Regions from separate parts of the Homo sapiens genome. Here all the other regions are linked to region 5. Evidence: promoter capture Hi-C in 16 types of primary human blood cells and fetal thymus (Javierre and others, 2016). All regions are on one chromosome and are shown on one strand. The core of a region is centred on a gene start or on the middle of the fragment in contact, and the rest is flanking DNA. Distances in the headings are between cores, read along the strand shown.

What was found. Contacts are between HindIII fragments. The CHiCAGO score rates a contact against its expected background, and 5 or more counts as called.
Region 1: a fragment that was not itself captured here is called in contact with the fragment with the promoter of EFNB2 in region 5 in 1 of 17 cell types (fetal thymus); the score reaches 5.9 in fetal thymus.
Region 2: a contact is called between a fragment that was not itself captured here and the fragment with the promoter of EFNB2 in region 5, in 1 of 17 cell types (M1 macrophages). The highest score is 5.6, in M1 macrophages.
Region 3: a fragment that was not itself captured here is called in contact with the fragment with the promoter of EFNB2 in region 5 in 1 of 17 cell types (fetal thymus); the score reaches 5.7 in fetal thymus.
Region 4: a contact is called between a fragment that was not itself captured here and the fragment with the promoter of EFNB2 in region 5, in 1 of 17 cell types (M2 macrophages). The highest score is 5.1, in M2 macrophages.
Region 6: a contact is called between a fragment that was not itself captured here and the fragment with the promoter of EFNB2 in region 5, in 1 of 17 cell types (fetal thymus). The highest score is 6.6, in fetal thymus.
Region 7: a fragment that was not itself captured here is called in contact with the fragment with the promoter of EFNB2 in region 5 in 1 of 17 cell types (fetal thymus); the score reaches 8.8 in fetal thymus.

Annotation. Positions count from the first base shown.
Region 1 is chr13:104,534,539-104,537,634 of GRCh38, forward strand. No RefSeq gene overlaps it. Among named protein-coding and RNA genes, the nearest start is that of DAOA, 930 kb to the right of the region's middle. The HindIII fragment of the contact is 3,270 bases long and covers 121-3,096 here.
Region 2 is chr13:104,748,857-104,751,664 of GRCh38, forward strand. No RefSeq gene overlaps it. Among named protein-coding and RNA genes, the nearest start is that of DAOA, 720 kb to the right of the region's middle. The HindIII fragment of the contact is 2,498 bases long and covers 230-2,727 here.
Region 3 is chr13:104,930,331-104,933,303 of GRCh38, forward strand. LOC105370343 (a long non-coding RNA gene) reads right to left here. Exons shown (of 3, transcript XR_001749998.1): 3 at 1,022-1,057. Among named protein-coding and RNA genes, the nearest start is that of DAOA, 530 kb to the right of the region's middle. The HindIII fragment of the contact is 2,950 bases long and covers 145-2,973 here.
Region 4 is chr13:104,792,275-104,795,469 of GRCh38, forward strand. All of the region lies in intron 3 of LOC107984606 (a long non-coding RNA gene), which reads right to left. Among named protein-coding and RNA genes, the nearest start is that of DAOA, 670 kb to the right of the region's middle. The HindIII fragment of the contact is 3,195 bases long and covers 12-3,195 here.
Region 5 is chr13:106,534,072-106,537,033 of GRCh38, forward strand. EFNB2 (ephrin B2) reads right to left here and starts at 1,591. Exons shown (of 5, transcript NM_004093.4): 1 at 772-1,591. The coding sequence starts at 893. RefSeq lists a silencer at 1,379-2,038 and an enhancer at 2,619-2,688. The HindIII fragment of the contact is 2,990 bases long and covers 19-2,962 here.
Region 6 is chr13:104,878,737-104,881,745 of GRCh38, forward strand. All of the region lies in intron 1 of LOC107984608 (a long non-coding RNA gene), which reads left to right. Among named protein-coding and RNA genes, the nearest start is that of DAOA, 590 kb to the right of the region's middle. The HindIII fragment of the contact is 1,713 bases long and covers 638-2,350 here.
Region 7 is chr13:104,555,712-104,558,833 of GRCh38, forward strand. No RefSeq gene overlaps it. Among named protein-coding and RNA genes, the nearest start is that of DAOA, 910 kb to the right of the region's middle. The HindIII fragment of the contact is 6,001 bases long and covers 1-3,122 here.

The sequences.
Region 1 (3,096 bases), core at 506-3,005, 2.0 Mb before region 5:
CCTGTGGTAAAATCAATTAGAAGCACATCTAGAAGGGAGGAAGCAATAGATATTCTCTTCTTCTAAAGAACAAAACAAAACAAAAACATTTACGAACCTGTTTAACAGTATGTGTTCCAAAGCTTATCTGGCAGTTTTATTTGCTAAACTTAATGAGAGAAAGAAGACTTGTTGTTAAAATATGAAATGTATTTATTAAGAATCACATTTATTCAGTATTCACTTGATATTCAGCACCATTCTAGGCGCTGGGGCAGGACAATGAACCAAACAGTCATGTCCATGTTTTCCTGGAGTTATATTCCAGGCAGGAAGAAAGAAAATGAACAATGGGGGAGAAATTCTTCAGAGGATTGTAAGTCCTAGAAAAAAATAAACCGGGTAAATTGTAAAGAGAGTGAAAGTAGATGGGGTGTTGGTGAGATTTCGATCTGACTGATGAAAGGAGCTACCTATGGCAGATCAGGAATGAGAATGACAGATAGGGGGCAGCAGAGCTGAGATCCTTAGGCAGGCGCGGGCTTGGTGTTTTTGAAAAACACAAAGGGCTGGGCATGGTTGGCTCACACCTGTAATCCCAGCACTTTGAGAGGCCGAGGCGGGTGGATCACCTGAGGTCCGGAGTTCGAGACCAGCCTGACCAACAAGGAGAAACACCGTCTCCACTAAAAATACAAAATTTAGCCGGGTGTGGTGGCACATGCCTGTAATCCCAGCTACTCAGGAGGCTGAGGCAGGAGAATCACTTGAAACCGGGAGGCGGAGGCTGTGGTGAGCCGAGATTGCGCCACCGCACTCCAGCCTGGGTGACAGAGCAAGACTCCATCTCAAAACAAAAAAAAAAAAAAAAAAAAAAAAAAAAAAGAAAACCACAATGGAGGTCAGCGTAGTATGTGTGATGGAGGATAGTAAAGAAGGGGTGATTCGAGGGAGATGAGGCTTGAGCAACGGGCAGAACCAGTATGTGGAGAGACATATTTAAGCTATGGTTAAAAAAAAAAAAAAAAAAGGAGAGCTTTAAGCAATGCAGTAAAATGATATGATTTGTGTTTTAAAATGAACGTGATTCTTGCATAACTACATTTACACACTCTGATAAATAAGAGATCACAGTGATAAAGACCAGAATCTGTATGAGATGCAATTATTGTAATACTATGTGACAATTTTGGGTTTATTTTCATTAACTACTTAGTAATAAAAAGAGATCAGTGGAGGTCTTTGGAAAAATAAAATCTAACTGAAAGATACAAATCTAATCCAATAATATCACTCAAAATCTTATGAATAACCACCAAATGATAGTATCTAGAAATTTAGTTCTGCTATTATGATTCAAACTTGACCTACACTCACTTTTAAAGTGCTGTCAACAAATTAATTATTGGATATCTACTATATATTACATTACTGTTAACATGACCAGGGATCTGGAATTCTCTATTCAAATCTGCCTTATGAAAGATAAGCAATATAATTGTATTACCTGTATGCATACAGATATACAATTTAATATTTCCTTTCAATAAAAGCTCACTTTGTTGTATACTGTAACTTTCTATAGGGAGACAATAAATGTTGAATTTTGAAGATTAATGCAATGATAACATGACAATACTTTTAAAAGATCCAAAAATCCAACTTTCCACAAAGAAAATTTATTCTTTGCATTTGGTAATAGAATTGATATCATTTAATATTTAGCATTCTTATCACTATTTTGAATTTTGAATAATTATTATTCAAAAATACTGCTAAAAGAGCACCATATGTAATAATGATAGATTTATCAATGAAATTGAATATTACTTTATCCCTCTGTTGCTCAGTATTAGCCAATGATTAGAGCCTGACCTTCTCCGAAGAACTGAATCATTTGATCATGTCTATTTTATGTTTATAGTTTATATGCTTTGGTACACAGAAACACAGCTTCCCCAGAGATGTTCATCCTCTAATCCCAAGAACCTGTGACTATATTACTTCACAGTGAAAAGGGGTCTTGTGGATTTGATGAAGTCGACAATCCCGTGATGGGGACATGATCTTAGATTGCCTTGGGTGGTCCTGATGTTATTACAGAGGTCCTTCTAAGAGGGAGAGTGGGTCTGGCATAGTGACTCACACCTGTAATCCCAGCTCTTTGGGAAGCCGGGGCAGGTGGATCATTTGAGGTCAGGAGTTTGAGACCAGCCTGGCCAACATGGTGAAACCCCGTCTCTACTAAAAATACAAAAAATTAGCCAGGTGTGGTGATACATGCCTGTAATTGCAGCTACTCAGGAGGCTGAGGCAGGAGAATTGCTTGAACCTGGGAGGCGGAGGTTGCAGTGAGCCAAGATCATGCCCTTTGCACTCCAGCCTGGGTGACACAGCGAGACTCTGTCTCAAAAAAAAAAAAAAAAAAAAAAAAAAAAAAAAGGGAGAGTAGAGGTCAGAGGAGAGAAAGCAACATGACAAAGGAGGCAGAGATTGGAACGATGAGCCCCTAAGAATAAGAAAAGGAAGACTGGAAAAGACAAGGAACATATTTTCCCTGGAGCCACCAGAAGGAACTTGCCCTGATGATAGCTGGATTTCAGAGACATAAAGTTCATTTCAGACTTCTGACCTCTAGAACTGAACATAATACATCTGGGTTATTTTAAGCCAATAGGTATATAGCCATTTGTTGTAGTGGAAACTAACAAACACGCTAAATTGTATTAATATGATACAACAGATAAGATGAAATTCTAAAATAAAAAAATAATAATAATACATATTCCTAATTCTCTCCTAAGAAGTTGGAAGAGAAGAATTAGGCATTACTTAGAGATGTAAAATTATCATCTACTACATAAAACAACTTTATATTCGTTTTTGTGAAATATACTTGAAAGCAAACATATGAGTTTCCTCTAAAAAAGCATTCAATTGAAAATAACCTTTGGGGATATTGAAGACTATTAGTTTTCAAATATTATTTATGTTTATGTCTCCCTCATATTTTTGGGGGGGAAAAAAGTACGTAACGTGTGGAATTTATGAGGACAAAGTCCTCCCTTCACCTGCATGCACATCTGTGGTCTCTAACCAGAGTCTTAAGAAGCCCTC
Region 2 (2,808 bases), core at 229-2,728, 1.8 Mb before region 5:
GACATTGATATATACAGAAATTACTTCTAGCCTAATGTGAAATACAATAAAATAATTAATAGCAACTTTGTGTTAGGCAACTGAAGGTGTTTCAAATATCAATACAATTTTAATTTATACTTTGACAAAAACACACTGGAACAAAAGGGCTCTATGTAATGTCTAATAATTTCAATGAAATCATTGTATAAATTGCCTTATTTCTCTTAGCATAGCCTTGTGATGCCAAAGCTTGCCTCCCAGAGACATTTTTTATGAGTGACATCAAATATAAAATGTAACCACCTGAAAAGATTTATATTATATCACTATAATAAACAGAGATATGTATAATACATTTTGAATGAATTATCCAAATATTGTCAGGAAAATGGCTTTGGTTATGTCAATATGTGTGTGAAGTGATTTTGATCAATATTTAAATGTCTTTCATCTTACCTGATGTACTATTTGTCATGAATCTTAGTGTCTATTTGTTTAAAAAAGTTAAACCACTTATCTTACCCCAATTTTTAATTTTATCCAAGAAGCCTTTCTTTAAAGAGTAAAATTATGGAGACAGATTGAGTGAAAAAAGCGAGAATATGCTCTATGCCGTTCCTTTTACCTGGAAATCCCTCTGTTCTTTTTCTACCTTTTTTCATAACCTTCTTCACAACCACCATATAGTTGATGTCATCTAATTAATTTTTCTTGGCTCATTCCATTTGACTCTATACGCTTCTTTACTTAGATCATCACCCACACTAACATGTTTAACTTCCACTAGTTTAATGTACACTTGATCATTAATTTTAGTTTAATTCTATACTAGAATACATAGTGCAAGATGACAAGAGCTAATGTCATTGGATTCTTTGGCCTTTCGTCTTATCTTCCATTATCTCCTTTTTAATGATGTACCCCTGAATTCTCATCAATCTTTACTGGCATAGTCTCTATGAACATAGAAAACTGCTTACAAATCTGCTATTTATTACAGTGAATATAAGGACTAATAGTAAAACAATATTTTAATATGAATATGTATTCCTTATTAATGATAGTATCACTAAAATTTTTGGACTTGATTTCAAAATACCAATGTCCTCTCTTCAAAGCATTGTATTATCATTTCAAATATTTAAAGTACAAATTGCATTTATGGCTGTCCCTCTAAGTTGATTTGTTTGTACTTTGGGAGCTTAGTATTTACTAATTCTCTCTGAGTGCCTAGTGCTTTGCAAAAAAAAAAAAAAAGTAACAAAAATGAAAGAAAATAAAGTAATTTTTTTTTTTTTTTTTTTTTGAGACAGAGTCTCTCACTGTTACATGGGCTGGAGTGCAGTGGCACGATCTGGGCTCACTGCAACCTCCGCCTCCTGGGTTCACGCGATTCTCCTGCCTCAGCCTCCTGAGTAGCTGGGACTACAGGCACACACCACCACACCCGGCTAATTTTTTGTATTTTTAGTAGAGACAGGGTTTCACTATGTGGGCCAGACTGGTCTCCAACTCCTGACCTAGTGATCCGCCCGCCTCGGCTTCTCAAACTGCTGGGATTACAGGTGTGAGCCACTGTGCCTGGCCAAAATAACTTTTCTTAACATTGTGATAATAGTTTTCCATTTAAGTAAAATATGGGAGTCTCATCCTATTTAGTTCAGCTTAGGACAGCTTGGTGTACTCTGATCAATCCCTAATGTGGGTGTTCTGCATTTCTTCATCACCATGGCAGGCACTGGCGGAGCTAAGATTCTTACTGTGTGAGCACTGCTAGCATGCTTGATCAGTGAGGTCATGTGCAGGAAGTGCAAAGATTAACCTAGAAGGAGTCTGAATCCTACCTGTGAAACAAAATAGTTAGTAATGCTGCTAGCCAATTACACAGTACTCTCAATCCATAACATTATCATGAAATTCTATTTTTCCATCACTGCATATAGGGTACAGTATTCTTAATACACATTTATTTATTTATTTTTCCTGGTTTAAAATGTACTCTTAATATAAATAACTGTTAAAGAAAAATGGGGAACAACTGAAAGTCCATACAAGTCATTTAAAAAATTGAATGTTTAGATATTGCTATTTCTCTAGCTAGTTATCTTATTAGATAACATTATGTGTAGAGTTGGCTAACTTGATTCTTTTCCACCAGACAACACAGTGAGGATTTTGCCCTTTCAATAAAATATATATATCAAGAGTTGAGAGGAGTATATATTGTGAAAAAAAAGTAATAAGAAAAAATATGGTTTGCCTTGGACTCTGATCCTATTGTGGAAACTAGTTAATGTGGGAAACTCAGATCTCTGAGATTAAAGAAAAGAGTAAGTTTTCTTACATAAAATGTTTCTCATAGGAGAGCCCACTTAGAAATAATGTATTGTAGTAGTTTTTTTTGAATTTGCTAAATATTTTGAAAATGTTGCTTAGTATATACACTCTATGGTCTTATTTTTACATGCTTATTCTCATTTCAGAGTAATTTACTTACAATAGTTTTATTTTAGTTAGATGAAACTTTTTATCATAAGATGTTGAATGTTTTGATTATTGGTGTTTTCAGTGATGAGATGCATCAAGTTCAATAAGACACCTTGAGAATGTACTTTTTCTTACTCAATGATCAATCTTCTTTATATTATGATAATTTCTTCAATATCTGTGAACGTGCAGTATTTTATACAATTTATCAGGGAAAAAATCTTCTCCGAATTATGATAATTGACAAGACAGTAGCAAAGCTTTGAGTCAAAATACTGTAAACAGAGACAAAGAAAACAAATGTGCAGATAATTTATTTCTCATTTTTAAAAATATTTG
Region 3 (2,973 bases), core at 370-2,869, 1.6 Mb before region 5:
CCCTTAGCTTACTGTAACTACTTTACTTTATAAACTTAGTTTTTTTTAACATTTTTACTCTTTTGTAATAACACTTAGCTTAAAACACAAACACATTATATACCAGTACAATAATATTTTCTTTCTTTATATCCTTATTCTATAAGCTTTTTTCTTATTTTTAATTTTTTTACCTTTTAAATTTTTTATGAAAAATTAAGACACAGACACACTCATTAGCCTAGGCCTACACAAGGTCAAGATAATCATTTTCACTGTCTTCCACCTTCATAGCTTGTCCCACTGGAAATTCTACCCTATCATCAGGCTATAGAAATGGTTCACCCTGAGACCATTGTCCTATTGGCTGTCCAGTTTTTACTGAAACATCTCCCTTTGGTGTCCACCCAACTCCCAGGCTATCATGTTTAGATTTTGTTTTAGATTATTACACATAGTCTTTCTTTTTGTTAAAAATTTTCTCTTGTTTTTATTCTTTGTTACCGAGGATTTTTTCTTTTTTTTTTTTTTTTTTGAGGCGGAGTCTCTCTCTTTTGCCCAGGCTGGAGTGCAGTGGCGCGATCTCGGCTCACTGCAAGCTCCGCCTCCCGGGTTCACGCCATTCTCCTGCCTCAGCCTCCCGAGTAGCTGGGACTACAGGCGCCCGCCACCACGCCCGGAGAATTTTTTGTATTTTTAGTGGAGACGGGGTTTCACCGTGTTAGCCAGGATGGTCTCAATCTCCTGACCTCGTGATCCACACGCCTCGGCCTCCCAAAGTGCTGGGATTACAGGCGTGAACCACCGCGCCCGGCCCAGGATTTTTAAAGACCGTGTATCAGTGGTTGTTCAGCCTGTCTCTATCCAAACCTTTTCTCTCCTTCCTCAGGGCTATTCAGGTTAAGACCACATTCACCACTATCTTTCCGGGCTAAGTGTGACCACGTGATTAAATATCAGCCAACCCTATAATTAGAAGGGCAACCTTGTTAAAATCAACTTCTGACCTGGATTTCCACTGTTTCATTTTGGTGTCTGGAAATGATGACAGCCAGACCAACCATGAAAGCCTGGAACCCTAGAAGAATGTGTAGAAAAAAGAAACATCTTATTATTATGAACATTTTTTACGTTTAAGAGAACAGCATTATCTTTATTATACTAATCAATAAAAAAAACTTCCCTTTGCTTCAAAGAGTGCAACACTGTCTCTATCTTCCAAGGCTTTTTGCTGTAAAAACATTCTGAAAAAGTAATCTCAACAAAGATGATCATTGCCTCTGCTCTATAACATGTGCAGAAATGAGAGATGCCAATTTTCTACCCTCCAGATTTCTCCACATCATTCTTACATATAGACAGTAAAATAAATGTGTTTAGTCTCAAAACAAATTGAGAATCTAGTATACCTTGCCAAAATTATTATATTAATTAGGAAACAATAGATTTAAAAATATATTTTTGCCATCAAGGGCAACGATATTCTATAACTTTTTCCAGAGTCCTTTACAATTATTTCCACTAGAAAATTTTAAAACACCCCCTGACACACACACACATTATGGTAATCAATAGTAAATATACTGATTGAATTTTGAGGTTAGTTTGGTGATGTGCTAAGTGTTAGTCAGTCAGGACTTTGTAGAGAGCTAACAGTTTTCTCATCACTGACTTAGTGAGTACTCTGGCTTCAAGCTGTTTATCTCATTCTAAAATAAAATGTAAAGATATAAGATTCCTGAAACTTGGAAATATCTATGATTAAAAGTCATAAAAGTCAAAGTCAAATGTTTAAGAGATGTAAAAAAATGAAGTATATAATTATTTACCTATTGAGAGAGAGCGAAAAAAAGAGAGATATGGCCGAAAAAATATCCCTAATATAGTAGTAAATGAAAATAAGTTGCAAAGGTAGAATTATATTTTTTGTTAAAATAAAAAAATTAAATACATATATACTTGCATGTGACTTTACAAAATAAAAAGTGCTTTCTTTAATAAAAAATTTAGCTGAATTAGGAACAGTATTATATAATTAGGTTGCTACTTTAATAATCAGTAATAGTAAAAGTACACATTTGAAATATTCTTACTATGAAGAATATAACAATTTGTTTAACAATTATCAAATACACAAATTACTCATGCTCAAATATAGCTCAAAATATTTTTGTCATATTCAAAAATACTAAATGTAATTTTTTAATATCAACATTTCTTTTGTTTATTAGAAGAAAGCAAATGGCTAGTATACTGGGGGGGAAAATCCCTGTAGTCTTTCTTTGGATAAAAGATTTAAGTTCCTCATACATTTTGATGGACTAGTGATATTAGCAACCAAAGTAGCACTGCTCTAGAAAATGGATAAATGGATGACTACAGTTGGAGCAAATGAAAATGATTTTGCCAGAGGCAAAATACAACATGTTTCCAACAACAGTCATAGTTCCACCAGGGCCATTGGTGAAACTCCATGGTATTATTATATAAGTTGTTTTTACTACAATGACATATGTTAAGCACTTACAAAATGCTTACCCTTAATTGGAATGAGTTTAGCCTGAAGACAGAATATAATTTATTTAATGTTCTTTCACTTGTCACAATTAAATAAATACATTGACTAAATATGTGATAATTTGTAATCCCTTCCTTTTGAGTTCTTTGTAAGGTACATAATACTTCAGGGTTTTGATAATATAGACATTACATCTATTGAATTTTTCCCTCTTCATAATTTTTATTCAAGAGAGTATTTATAATGATAACTAACTAATAATAAATAAACAATGTAAACAAATCTACTGTGAAAACCACATTGACTTTCTAAAATTTAGCCTGGGCATCCATTTGAAATTTCTATGTCATCAGAGATCTGGTTTTTCACAGTACAAAAAAAAACAAACAACAAACACTCTCTCCTTTTCACAATTCTCTTTATTTCCAAAAGTATTTTGTTTCTCTTCCACATTCAATTTATATTCTAGAGAAGCG
Region 4 (3,195 bases), core at 359-2,858, 1.7 Mb before region 5:
TTTATGACAAAAGCTTTGATCCCTCTGCACATCCAGTAAATACAAAACATTACTATGTTTTAAGGATGTGCTTATATGCCCACATTATGACTCTAACAAATGTTTTAAACTACATTTTGAAAGTTATTGGTTTGGTAAAGTTCCAAATACATTTCTTCTTAAGTTACCAACACTAACCCTATGAGCTTCAAAGTATGATGATTTTACATATTGCAAGGGGTTATGCATGCAAAACTTGACTCTGTTTCACAGACATATTGTGTCGTGTTTCAAATAATGAAAGTGCAAGGTGAATAGCTATAAAAATTAATGCACACACCCAGCAACTTTGATATAAGCACTGTTATAGACTAGCTTTGCACGTGAAGTCTGAAATTAGCTTAGAATACAATGGGAAATGCCTTATAATATTTATAATATTTTAGTGATACTGTAATTTCTGTTTAGTTCCAGTATGGCTAAATATTTTATACAAGGATGAGATAATGTTTTAGGACATACTCTAGAATATCATTTTACTTCTTTCACAAATTTTATCTATTCTTGGAAGCTGTTAGTGGGTGATTAGCTGTACAATGTTACAGCTCTGGTCTGACAGGTAGACTTGTGTGGTCATAGATAAACTAAGAAAAATGGATTTACTACTTACATAGTTACCAGTATTATTGCAATAAAATCCCCTAAACTATTTAGAACATTGGAAATACAGATCAGGTAATGGTATATACCAAAAAGTGAACATTTGCCTATTTTTTTAAAAAAAACTTCTCAGTTTTATTGACTAAAAGCAGTGTAGAACCAGTAAAGACCTTAGGGATCATCAGATGGTTATTTCCAAATTGTGCTATGCAGAGTCTTTGTCCTCTACTGTATGGTGTCAAGGACCTCCGAAGGGCAGGACATGAGAAGAACAAGTATATAGGATACCAACTATGTTTATTACCCTTTACTGTATATTGGGGACTCTGTGCAAACTTTGTTTAAGAGAAAGAGAGAGAGAGAGAGAGAGAAACAGAGAGAGAATTTCCACTGCTTAAACAAATGAAACCAATTTAAGGCAATTTTCTCTGTTTAGAGATAAAACATACCAGTGCTTTACAGGGAGGCAAAATGATTTCTTTTTGCTTAATTGTGCTTGTTTATTGACATTTTACAATTCGGTTGCCCTCTACAGCTTCTGTGGTTTTGAACCTATATGGACTTAAAACAACACTGGTTGTTGTTACATATACATATATTACAACACATCGGTTCAATTTTAAGATATACAACACTTTTAACTTGTTTGTTATTAGGAGTCAGAATATTAGAAAATGGTATACTGTGTTTTCGATTTGTTAGTTCATTTTATGTGTTTATTCAATCAGTAAACTTTCAAGGAGGGCTTCCTTTTGACAGGTGCTTGGAAATTAACTATAAATTGGAAAAACCTACAGGTAAGTATATGATTATTATAAATCCTTCAAGGATCATGACAGAGGTGTCTGCAAAAAAATATGAGGAAAAGGAAAGGAAAAACCATACGTAGGGGCAAGTGAGGGTGGGGGAGGGTGTATGAAAAGCTGATTCTTGGTTCGGGAATTTTCCTTAGAGAGACATTGGTTAGAAATATGAACAGAAATTGGAATGGTCCAGGTATTTAAGGCCAAGGACTTTTTCTCAGATGCCCTTTGGTGAAGACACTCCATGCTGGAACATAAAAGTAAGGGAAGTACGCGACAGGGAGTGGAGGGCTGAAGCCCACCTTCCTGAGAAACTGCCTTCTGCAGCTTCAACTCCACCTTCGTCTTTATCCTTTCTTTCTCTTTTTATCTTGGATCTTTCTCGCGTATCAGAGGCCGGGGGATTTTGAACAAGGTTGCTAGCTGCATTTTTTTGCAATAAAATGCTGCTGGATATTGATGACCAAACTTTATAACATATGCTTACATAATACTGCAATGTATGTAATATGAAATGCCATTATATGAGTGTATATTATAGTAGTAGATAGTAATAAGTTTTATATAGTTTTTGATAATTTAATGAAATGTGTCCACTCATCAAAAGAGCTGATGAATCCAGTGTGAAGGAGAAACTGGTAAGCAATAAGGATTGGCTAAATTTGTGGTACAGGGAGCCACTAGCAGAACAAAGCTGAACAGGAGGGTTCAGTCAAGGAGCAGAGGCTGGCTGGCCAAAGAATCAGGCAGGAACACAGCTGTCTTACCAAACAGAAGGAAATGGAAGGGCCACATCTTCATTCAGACAATTGACTAACCAGGAGACAGAAAGGATTACCGTAAAAGGGTCTGATTTGTAGGTGTCAGGTAGCATTCTTAGCTAACATTATTATGATTTGGTTTATGAACCACAGTGGGAGAATCATCTCATCCAGAGACAGGAGCTCTTGTGCAATTAAACTGGAATGAAACATCTTGTGTGTCCTTTTTACCTACCTCTCCCTAACCTGTTCCCACTTACATACATTTGTTTTCTCTTTTTCTTGGCTTATTTCTGCTTAACTTGTCACAGCTCCTATCTGAAGTCCTGGTATTTCGCTTTGCCTCATCTCCTACTTCTGTCATTTGCATGATGTGCTGATTTAAATATCCATCTGCTGACTTTTATCACCACCCATTCTCAACACAATTCTGTGCCTCAGAAATTGTAGGCTTGCCATGTTCTTGTTCCAGAAACCACTGGGACAATAAAGTGAGCAGATTAGATGAACTACAGAAGGGATGGGCCTGAGGCACAGCGGCCTGCTCCTCTCCCGGATCTTGCTAAGGCAGGGCCCACCTTCCTCCCTCTTGCTTGTTATTCCTTGGACAATGCTTGTATTTATGTGGAATTGCAGAGGACTTAATGTTGCCTTTCATATTGTAAATATGTGGCATTGTGGCATCCCACCTTAGCTGCTGGTATTTTCCACAGTTCTAGTAAATTTGACTTTTTATTCCCCTGAAAGCAAATTGTTTCACAATAAATCTAAATCCAAATTGAGGGATTCTAGCACACATCACATTTAGGTAAATGAGTTTCCCATGATATTAACTGATTTGGGTTCAGTGAAGTGGAAAGCACGATAGTGGTAGGAAAACCGTTTTCATGTAGCAGAAAGAGAATGAACGTGGAAAGAGCACCTTTGAGTTTGATTCCAGGCTTGGGTGAATTTCTTACAATTGGACCTCAGGTTAAGTAAGGATAAGTAAG
Region 5 (2,962 bases), core at 341-2,840:
CGACTGGGCAGGGCCCTAAGCTTTTATAGGAAGTGCATTACAATCAGGTCGGCCATCGAGACCGCATACTCCGGGGCTACCGGCTTATGAACGAAGCGGGAGGCCGAGGTGCGGCGGGCCCTCAGGGAGAAGCCTAAGGCCCGTCTCCCCGGCGCGGAGGAAAGGGCTCGACGCCCGAGTTCTCCTGCGAAGCAGGCGAGCTCCCCGCGCACCCTCGGGCTGGCGGCGCGGTGCCAAGGCGCCCCGGCTCCAGGGCTCTGCGGGCAGCGTAGCGACTCCAGGCTCCCCTCTCCAGAACGCGCTTCGCTGCCAGCGTCCTGCCACCCCGGTCGCCCGCCCGCGGGCCCCGGACCACGCCGCCCGCGCTCCCCGCGAATGCAGCATCTCCGCCTCTCTCCAGAGCCCACCAGTCCCCGCGTGCCGGCCAGCCTAGATTGTGGCCATGTCCTTCGTCCTCGAAAACAGGAGAGGGTCAGGTATCGCCATCGGACACCTTCCCGGACTTGACACCCGAGCCGATAGTAGCTTTTAGCGCCTGGGAGCGTTCGGGGGAGGAAAGGCGGAGAGACCGTCCGTTCCAGCGGGGCTCGGGTTGGAAAGCCGAGCGAGGAGTCTCCACCTAGTGAAATGGGGCGGGGGTTGGGGGTGGGGGACGGGGAACCGAGGTTCCAGAAACAGGCTCCGAGGCCCCGCGGACTGACCCCTCCTCCCGCCCGGACGGCGCGGCGGACCCCGGGGCGGGGACATAGGGGGATCGCGGACGCCACTTACTTGGAGTTCGAGGAATTCCAATAGATAGGCTCTAAAACTATCGATTTGGAAATCGCAGTTCTGCATAAAACCATCAAAACACCCCAGCAGTACTTCCACACGGAGTCCCTTCTCACAGCCATGGCGAAGCCACTCCCAGCTCCGCGCACTCCGGGCCAAGAAGGGACTGACGGGACGCAGGCTGGGACCCCCAATCCTCCGGGGCAGACTGGCGGGGAAGACGGCGTGCGCCCGCAGGCAGCTCCGAGGCGCGCTGCGCAGCTCCAGCGGTCGCCGGGCCAGGTGCGCTCGCTCTCCGGGGCCCTCAGGGCGCGGGGCGGGAGCGCACGCGCGGGGCGCGGCGGCGCGGCGGACTCGGGGTTCCGGGGCGCCGCGCCGGACGCAGCTCGGACGGCCGACTCCCGTGCGGCTCCAGGGTGCCGGGCCGGCCGCGGCTGGCGGGTGGGCGCGGGGCGGGTGCGGGCTGGGACACAAAGACCCGGAGCGGAGACGACCGGCGCGGGCGGCGGGCGCTGCGCCCCGAGCGGGGCCGCCTGTGACTATAGATCCAGTGCAGCGGGCAGCGGCCCGAGCGCGCGGGCGCCGCGTCGGCGCGGTTCCATGTCCCGGAGCACGGAGCGGAGTAGGGCGCCTCCGGGCGCGCAGGAGCCTTCTCAGTCCGCGCGGCTCCCGGCCCCCAGGGCAGGAAAGAGGGAGCTCGGTCCCCGCCGCGGGCTCCGGACGCGCGCGGGCCTTTGTGTGCGGGGAGGGCGCCGGGACCCGCTGCGTGCGCAGCTCCTCGCTCCGGCCGGCGCCGCGGTCCCCGCCGAGGAGAGTCAGCGCGGCCGCCGCGCTGTCAGAGCGCTATAAACGCGGGGCCCCGCCCCGCCGCGCGAAGCCCATTGGCCCGCGGCTCCGCGGCCGCGCGCTGGTTGGACGGCCGGTCCGTCCGTCCGCCATCCCCTCCCGACATTGGGTGCCGCGAGGCGGGGCTCGGGCTGACAGGTGAGCCCCGCCCCTGGCTCCCGCGGGCGGCGGGAGCGGAGCAGAAGCCGGGCAGGAGAAGCGCTCAGCGCGTGCACAGGGCGCCCCCGGGGCGGCGAGAGGCCTTCTGGGCGCGGTGCAGACGTGGAAACAGCGACGGCCGAGTAGCGGGCCACCTGTCTCCGCGCCCGGGGGCGCCTTCCCCCTCGGCGGAATCAGAGGGCGCGGCTTTCCCTCGAGCAGTGCGGAAGGCAGCAGGCTCCGCTCGGCGTCCCTTCTCCGCAGATGCGGCGCTGCCCCGCGTGCAAGACTTGCACTCCGCGCGCACCCTTAGAGCTCCCGGCTTCTGCGCGCTTCTCCCGACGCCTCTCGGCGAGGGCTTCTCACTTGATTTTGGTACCAATCGCCTACGGCTCAGTTTCAGTCAGTGGGGCCGGGAATTGCAAGACGATTCCTGCGACGCGGCGCCGGAATTTGCAGCTCTAATCAGGGCCTGAGCATCGTCGCCTCCCGCCTTCTCTGCGGGCGTCTCCCTTCCCTCCTGGCCCCCCGGGAAGGTGGCGCCCCTGGAGCTTTCCCCGCGTGTCGCCGGCACAGGCACGACGCGGGGACCGTCTCACTAGCCTCTAGGAGACACGCGCGCTTCCCAAAGTGACCAGAGATTTAGAGGGTGTGAGATGGAAAAGTCAAGGCATGTGCTTCTCACTCGGCGTCTGCAAGACCCCAGAGCAGAGCTGGCAGGAACTCCTCGCTACTTTCCCGGTCGAGCGCCGGTGCTGACGCTCGTCCGTGACTTCCACGGAGCCACAGCGCCCACTAGCGGCCAGCTTTGCTTCTCCGCATCTCGAGCGCTCTGCGGTCCACCGACCCGGATCCAGCATACTGCAGCATCTAATCAAGTCACAGTTCCAAGGAAAATCTTTTTATATGTCCAACAGTAGGAAGAACACGGTAGAAATAAGGCACAGTGCAAATGTACGATTCAGTATGAAAAATTAAAATATACTGTATGCCCACGTTTTTTTTCAATTTAATGCCGTCCACCCCAGGATTTATGTTTCAAACACAAACTGGGCAGTAATTCTACAAATTATGTATTTTTAAAACAAAGTATCCACTACGCTAAATTTAAAAATGCATATGGTAAAACACCTTGTTTTCTTTCACTCTTCTTTGTAACAATTTCTGAAGATTTTTATGGTACGTTGCTTTTAAGTATCCGTTTTTG
Region 6 (3,009 bases), core at 244-2,743, 1.7 Mb before region 5:
CCTGCAGGAACTTTAAAAATGTTCATACTCTACCAAACATTACAGCATTTCAGGGATGATATTATGCTTATGCTTATTGGACCTGGTGAGAAGGGAGTAGCAAACAACTCAAGTGCTTCAGCTGATGGCAAGTATGCTGGAAGGTAGCTTTTCACTGCAGGCATTTCATTTGATGGCAAGTATGCTGGAAGGTAGCTTTTCACTGCAGGCATTTCATTTGATGGCAAGTATGCTGGAAGGTAGCTTTTCACTGCAGGCATTTCATTTGATGGCAAGTATGCTGGAAGGTAGCTTTTCACTGCAGGCATTTCATTTGATGGCAAGTATGCTGGAAGGTAGCTTTTCCCTGGAGGCATTTCAGTTGATGGCAAGTATGCTGGAAGGTAGCTTTTCCCTGGAGGCATTTCAGTTGATGGCAAGTATGCTGGAAGGTAGCTTTTCACTGCAGGCATCACTATGAACTTGTGATATATATGGCCACTGTAAGGGCCTAGTGCAAGATTCCAGGAGTACAGAGCATACCTAGTGCCCAGATCTTGATTTCCCAATGTTCATTTCTACTAAATGAACCAGAGCCTGCTACTCGGAGAAATACATGATTCCAGGTCTAATATTTCCATTTTCAAGTGAAAATGCAAGCTTCATTTATTTGTTTATGGAAATGAATAACATGGTAATGTGTTAAACATATTTAATATGAAAAATAATGACTATAGGGATAACTTAAAAGTTTTAGACATATAAGAAGAAAAGAAAGAAGGAAAATTTTACAGAAAATGCTGGGTAATAAATAAAGAAGACATGATACAGTTGGAATCTCTTCATTTTAGAACTAACTTTCAGTGTGAAATTGCTTCAGGCAACGATCTTCAGTTGGGTGACAGGTGGTTGGAGAACAGAGTACTCAAATTGTCTCAAAGTGTTCCACCAAAATATAAGTATCAATTTCAAAGTAAAATAGGTTCCTTTACTATGAAACAATCTGATGGTGACCACCTTCATGCAATTTATTACCTCCTAAAATGTGAACACATGGAATGCCTCCTGACAATATGTGGTGAGCGGTGCCACAAGACTTATGGTATGTTACTATGAAATGTGTAACATGAGCTGGTCTCCAGGAAACACATCAACATATGATTGCTGTGTATTTAACAACAAAACTGGAACAGGAATCATCCAAACTTCCCCTATTATAGAGAGAAGAGCTAAAGAGGCTGTTGAGATTAAAAAATTTTTAAAAAAGGAACTAAAGATAAGCAACCCAGATAAGTGTGTAAACATTTATTGAATTCTAGATAAAAAACAAACCAACAAAAAGACATGAAAGACTCAGGACAAAAGAAAAAAACTAGAATTATCCAGCATATATTAGATTATGTTGTAGAAATAATGTTAATTTTCTTCAACGTGGTAATGGTATTGTGTTATAAAAACAATGTCCTATTTGTAGGATATTCATGTCAAAAATTTTGGAGATATGTATCATGTGTGTGCCATACTTTTAATGGTTCAGAAGAAAAAGAAAAAATAGTCTGCAGCAGAGCTGATCTGAGAGCTACTTTATCTGAATGAGGTACACATCGTTCTTGAGTCGAGAAAAGAAGGGGATTTTATTCTTTGTAACATCTTAAGCAAGATTATTATTTTTATTGTGATATTCATAAAAATTTACTCATCTTACAATGTAAGCATATAGTGTGTAAAAGGCAATTTAGTGTTCAGTTTTGCCAGCTTCTAAAAGTGTACAATCACGTGTTTCTTAACAACAGGGATACCTTCTGAGAAGTGTGTCGTTAGGCAATTTTGCAACCATCATAGAGTGTACTTACACAAACCTAAATGGGATAGCATAGTACACCTAGGCTATAGGGTATGGCCTATTACTCCTAGGCTACAAACTTGTACAGCATGTTACTGTACTGAGTCTAGGAGGCAATTGTAAAAGAATGGCCACTGTATATGTATCTCAACATATGTAAACATAGAAAAGTAACAAACAATATATGGTAGAAAAGGTTAAAAATGGCACACCTGTGTAGGACACTTATCATGAATGGAGCTTGCAGGATGGGAAGTTGCTCTGGGTGAGTGAGTGAGTGAGCAGTGGGTGAATGTGAAGGGCTAGGACAGTACTGTATACTACTGCAGACTTTGTAAATACTGTACACTTAATTTATACAAAATAATTTATCTTCAATAATAAATTAACCTTAGCTTCTATAACTTTTACTTTATAAATTTTTTAATTTTTTTAACGTTTTGGCCCTTGTAATGACGCAGCTTAAAATGCAAGCATATTGTACAACTGTATAAAAATATTTTCTTTGTTTATACTCTTATTCTATAAAGCTTTCTATATTTTAATTTTTTATCTTACTTTATAAACATTTTTTGTTAAAAGCTAAGACACAAACACACACATTAGCCTAGGCCTACACAGGGTCAGGATCATCAATGTCACGGTCTTCCACCTCCACATCTTGTCCTACTGGAAGGTCTTCAGGGTCAGAAACACACATGGAGCTGTCCTCTCCTATAACAGTATCTTCTTCTGGAATACCTCCTGAGGAACCAGTCTGAGGCTGTTTTACAGTTTTTTTTTTTATATAAATAAAAGGAATACACTCTAAAAGGTAAACAGTATAATACTGTTAATATATAAATCCTTAATATAATTGTCTATTATCAGTATCAAATATTACATACTGTGCATAATTATACGTACTAGACTTTTAAGTGCAATAGATTTGTTTATACCAGTGCCACCATGAAACATGAGTAATTCATTGTCCTATGACCTTAAAATGGCTACAATATCACTAGGCAATAGGAATTTTCAGCTTCGTTATATTCTATGAGACTACTGTTGTGTACATGGTCTGTTGACTGAAATATCGTTACGTGGTGTGGGCCTGTGTTACTAACTATTCTGCTATAAATTTCTAATAATATAAAATATTTCTCATCTGTTAACATTTCTACTGGGCTTCAAATATTGGTTTATCG
Region 7 (3,122 bases), core at 455-2,954, 2.0 Mb before region 5:
TTTTCACTGTTGGAACCTAGTACATGGCATTATTTACATTAGAAAAAAATAGATTGAAAATAGTTATTGGCAGAAATCAAAGAAGAAGGAGACGATGTAGTGAGAAATGTTAAGGGCAAGGTGGGTTTACAAGGGAAATAAAACCTCATGTCTTGGCAAAATACACTTTGATTTTGTACTTTCACTTCTCTGTGAAAGTGCAAGCTACATATTCCTGTCCATGTTTTTGCCTGGGGGAAAGCCTAGGAGTCTTGATCTCCTCATATGCTTAGGAGGCCACAGAACAACCAACCTGCTATCTACTAAGACATAAACAAAGTGTGCTCTGTAGTAGGAGTTCTCAATATGTAGGCACCATGTTCCCTGGGCCCTGACCCTCTGACTGTAGAGATTGAGCCTTGAGAAACAGAGATACCTCTACTCCCTTATATTTCCCCTCCAGTGTAAATGAAACACCAGCTAGCTGTTGCAATGGATACAGACAGTATTTGCTTTTTGTATTTGCACAATATTTCCACTGAATCAGACCTATTTAGTGTTTTGGTCAGCACTTTTAAAGATGGATCTGCTCCTGGTGATGAAACATTTCTTCTCCTTTTCACGAGACTGCTGGTTGTGCAGGATATGAAAGCACTTTGAAAACTGTCGCGTGCCATGAAGACTTTGCATTCTACATCTCAATGTGTCGTGGCTCCTATGCTTCCTTCCCTCTGTGTTGGCTCCCAGCTGGGCTTTCCTGCCCTTGTCCTCTTTGCTCTTCCCTCAGCCCCACCCAGCCTACGCACAGCAACCAGAATGGTCATTTTCCAACCTGAAGCCTAGGCCACCCCTTCCCAGCTTGCCTTTTCTCTTAGCCAAACTCTACAAGGTACATGTGATCTGGTCCAGCTCTTCTCTCTGACTCCAACCCCATCACACCTGTCTTTTCTCACTCTGCTCCAGACCTTTTCCTCTTGCAGCCACTCCTCAAGTGCACTAAACATCCCCTGCTCATGGGCCCCCAGCCTTGGTGCTTTGCTCTTTCTCGGGTCTACACTCAGATGGCAGCATGTCACAAAGTTCCCTGTCTGAGCGATTACCATTTCGCCACTATCCCACCCGTAAGGACTTTCTCACTCATGCTTCCTTCCTTTATTTTCTATATTGCACTTATCATGGATTGATTCATTGAACACGGTCTGTCTCTCCCCACTCCATTTCAAGTGAATCTCATTTGTCAAATTTGTTCAATAAAAGTTGAATGCTGTGTGAATAAATAATTCATGTCTTTTTTTCTACTTACATGCATTTGATGTCTACCTTTTTGGAACAAGCATTCTTAACTACTTATTGTTATTCACAGTTACCAAACCTATAAATAATGGGGATTTGACTCTCAAGATATTGTTGGAAAATTTCTGCCTTATGAGAAGTTGCCAAGGTAAAATGGTTAAGGGTTTCTTTGGCAGTTCCAAATGGGTTGTCAGCTAAGCCCAATTCAGTTATCATTTGTGTAACTTGGCACAAGTTACTTCACCTACCCATGTCTCAGTTTCTTCTTCCACTGAACAAGAACTGTGACTAAAAAAAAAAATACTACCTCAGAAAATGTCTATGAAGAAGAAATGACATCACATCTAGCCACTCATGGAACAAGACCTGGCCAATTGCAAGCACTCTGTAAATATTCGTTGTTACTATGAATTGAATATTTTTAAAGGGTACACATTTAGGCTCTTAATGAGTATTAGAAGTATTCTATAGCTGACAAATAATTGATTTTTTGAAAATTCATGATATTTAATTTGTTAAAAGTTTAACAAGACATCGTATCCCACATTATACACGTTTTTCATTCTCTGAGTCGATGACACATAGGCTTTATTGAAGTTTATATAGAGATCAGTATAAAAGTTCTTCTTTAAAAGTGTTGAAATCATATACTCTTTAGATATAAAAAGACAAAAATATTTGATGTGGAATCTACGTAATGACTTCTATCTGCTAGTTTCATTTTTCACTAAAAGCATCCATGGGGAACCAGGTATGTTGATATTAGGCTTTATGAAATGGAAATGCCAATTATAATCTAACAAAATCACACATTGCTTCAAATTCAGCTGGGCCACAGCTGGAATTGAATCTGTAAGCTATAATTAAGGCAAATTGTGTGTGTGTGTGTGTGTGTGTGTGTGTGTGCGTGTATATCTAAAATATTGGATAGAGAGATATATATTAAAAACTGTTATTTCTCTTTTTATAAAAAATTAAAAATATAGAGGAAAAATATCCTTCCCAATGGAAATCCAAATTGTATCAATTTCATTAAAGAAACTAAGCTGGTTTTGTAAGACAAAATAGGAATTATATGCATAGCAACGTTGATACAAACAAGATACATTTTAATTTTTAAGAAGTCACTCATTCTTATTCTCTGTGTAACTACTGTTATTATTTGGTGAGATGTATGTTTTGCAGCTAAAATATCCTGGAGATTTTAATAACAATTTAAAAATCAATCAACAGACAATTATTTTCTAGTGTACATTTCCAAATATTATTTAATTTAAGGAGAACTCATACCTCTTCTTTGTAAGCAGATTATTTAAGTGAATAAGAGGCATTTGAATAATTTTGTCTGCTACATACTACAGTATAATATGTTTATTGAATTTGTTCAAGACAGAAAATGAAGATTTGAAAATTATTTTCCTATAATACTCACTGCTTCTATACATTTGTATTTAAATATTGATTTAGAGAATAAAAGTAATTATAGAAATTTAGTATATTTGCTTATTTCTCTAGCACACTTTTTTAACCTAGAAATCTGCAATTTGAAGAAGCTCAGATAGTTTTATAAATAAATTCATCATATTTATGAATGTAATCTTTTTGTTATATTTTTTAACTTTTATTTTAGTTTTGTGGGTACATGTGAAGGTTTGTAACAGAGGCAAACTCATGTCACAAGGGTTAGTTGTACAGATTATTTTATCACCCAGGAGTTGAGCTGAGTACCCAATAGTTATCTTTTCTCTTCCTCTCTCTCCTCCCACCCTCCACCATCAAGTAGACCCCAGCATCTGTTGCCTCCTTCTTTGTGTTCATAAGTTGTCATCATTTAACTCCCTCTTATAAGT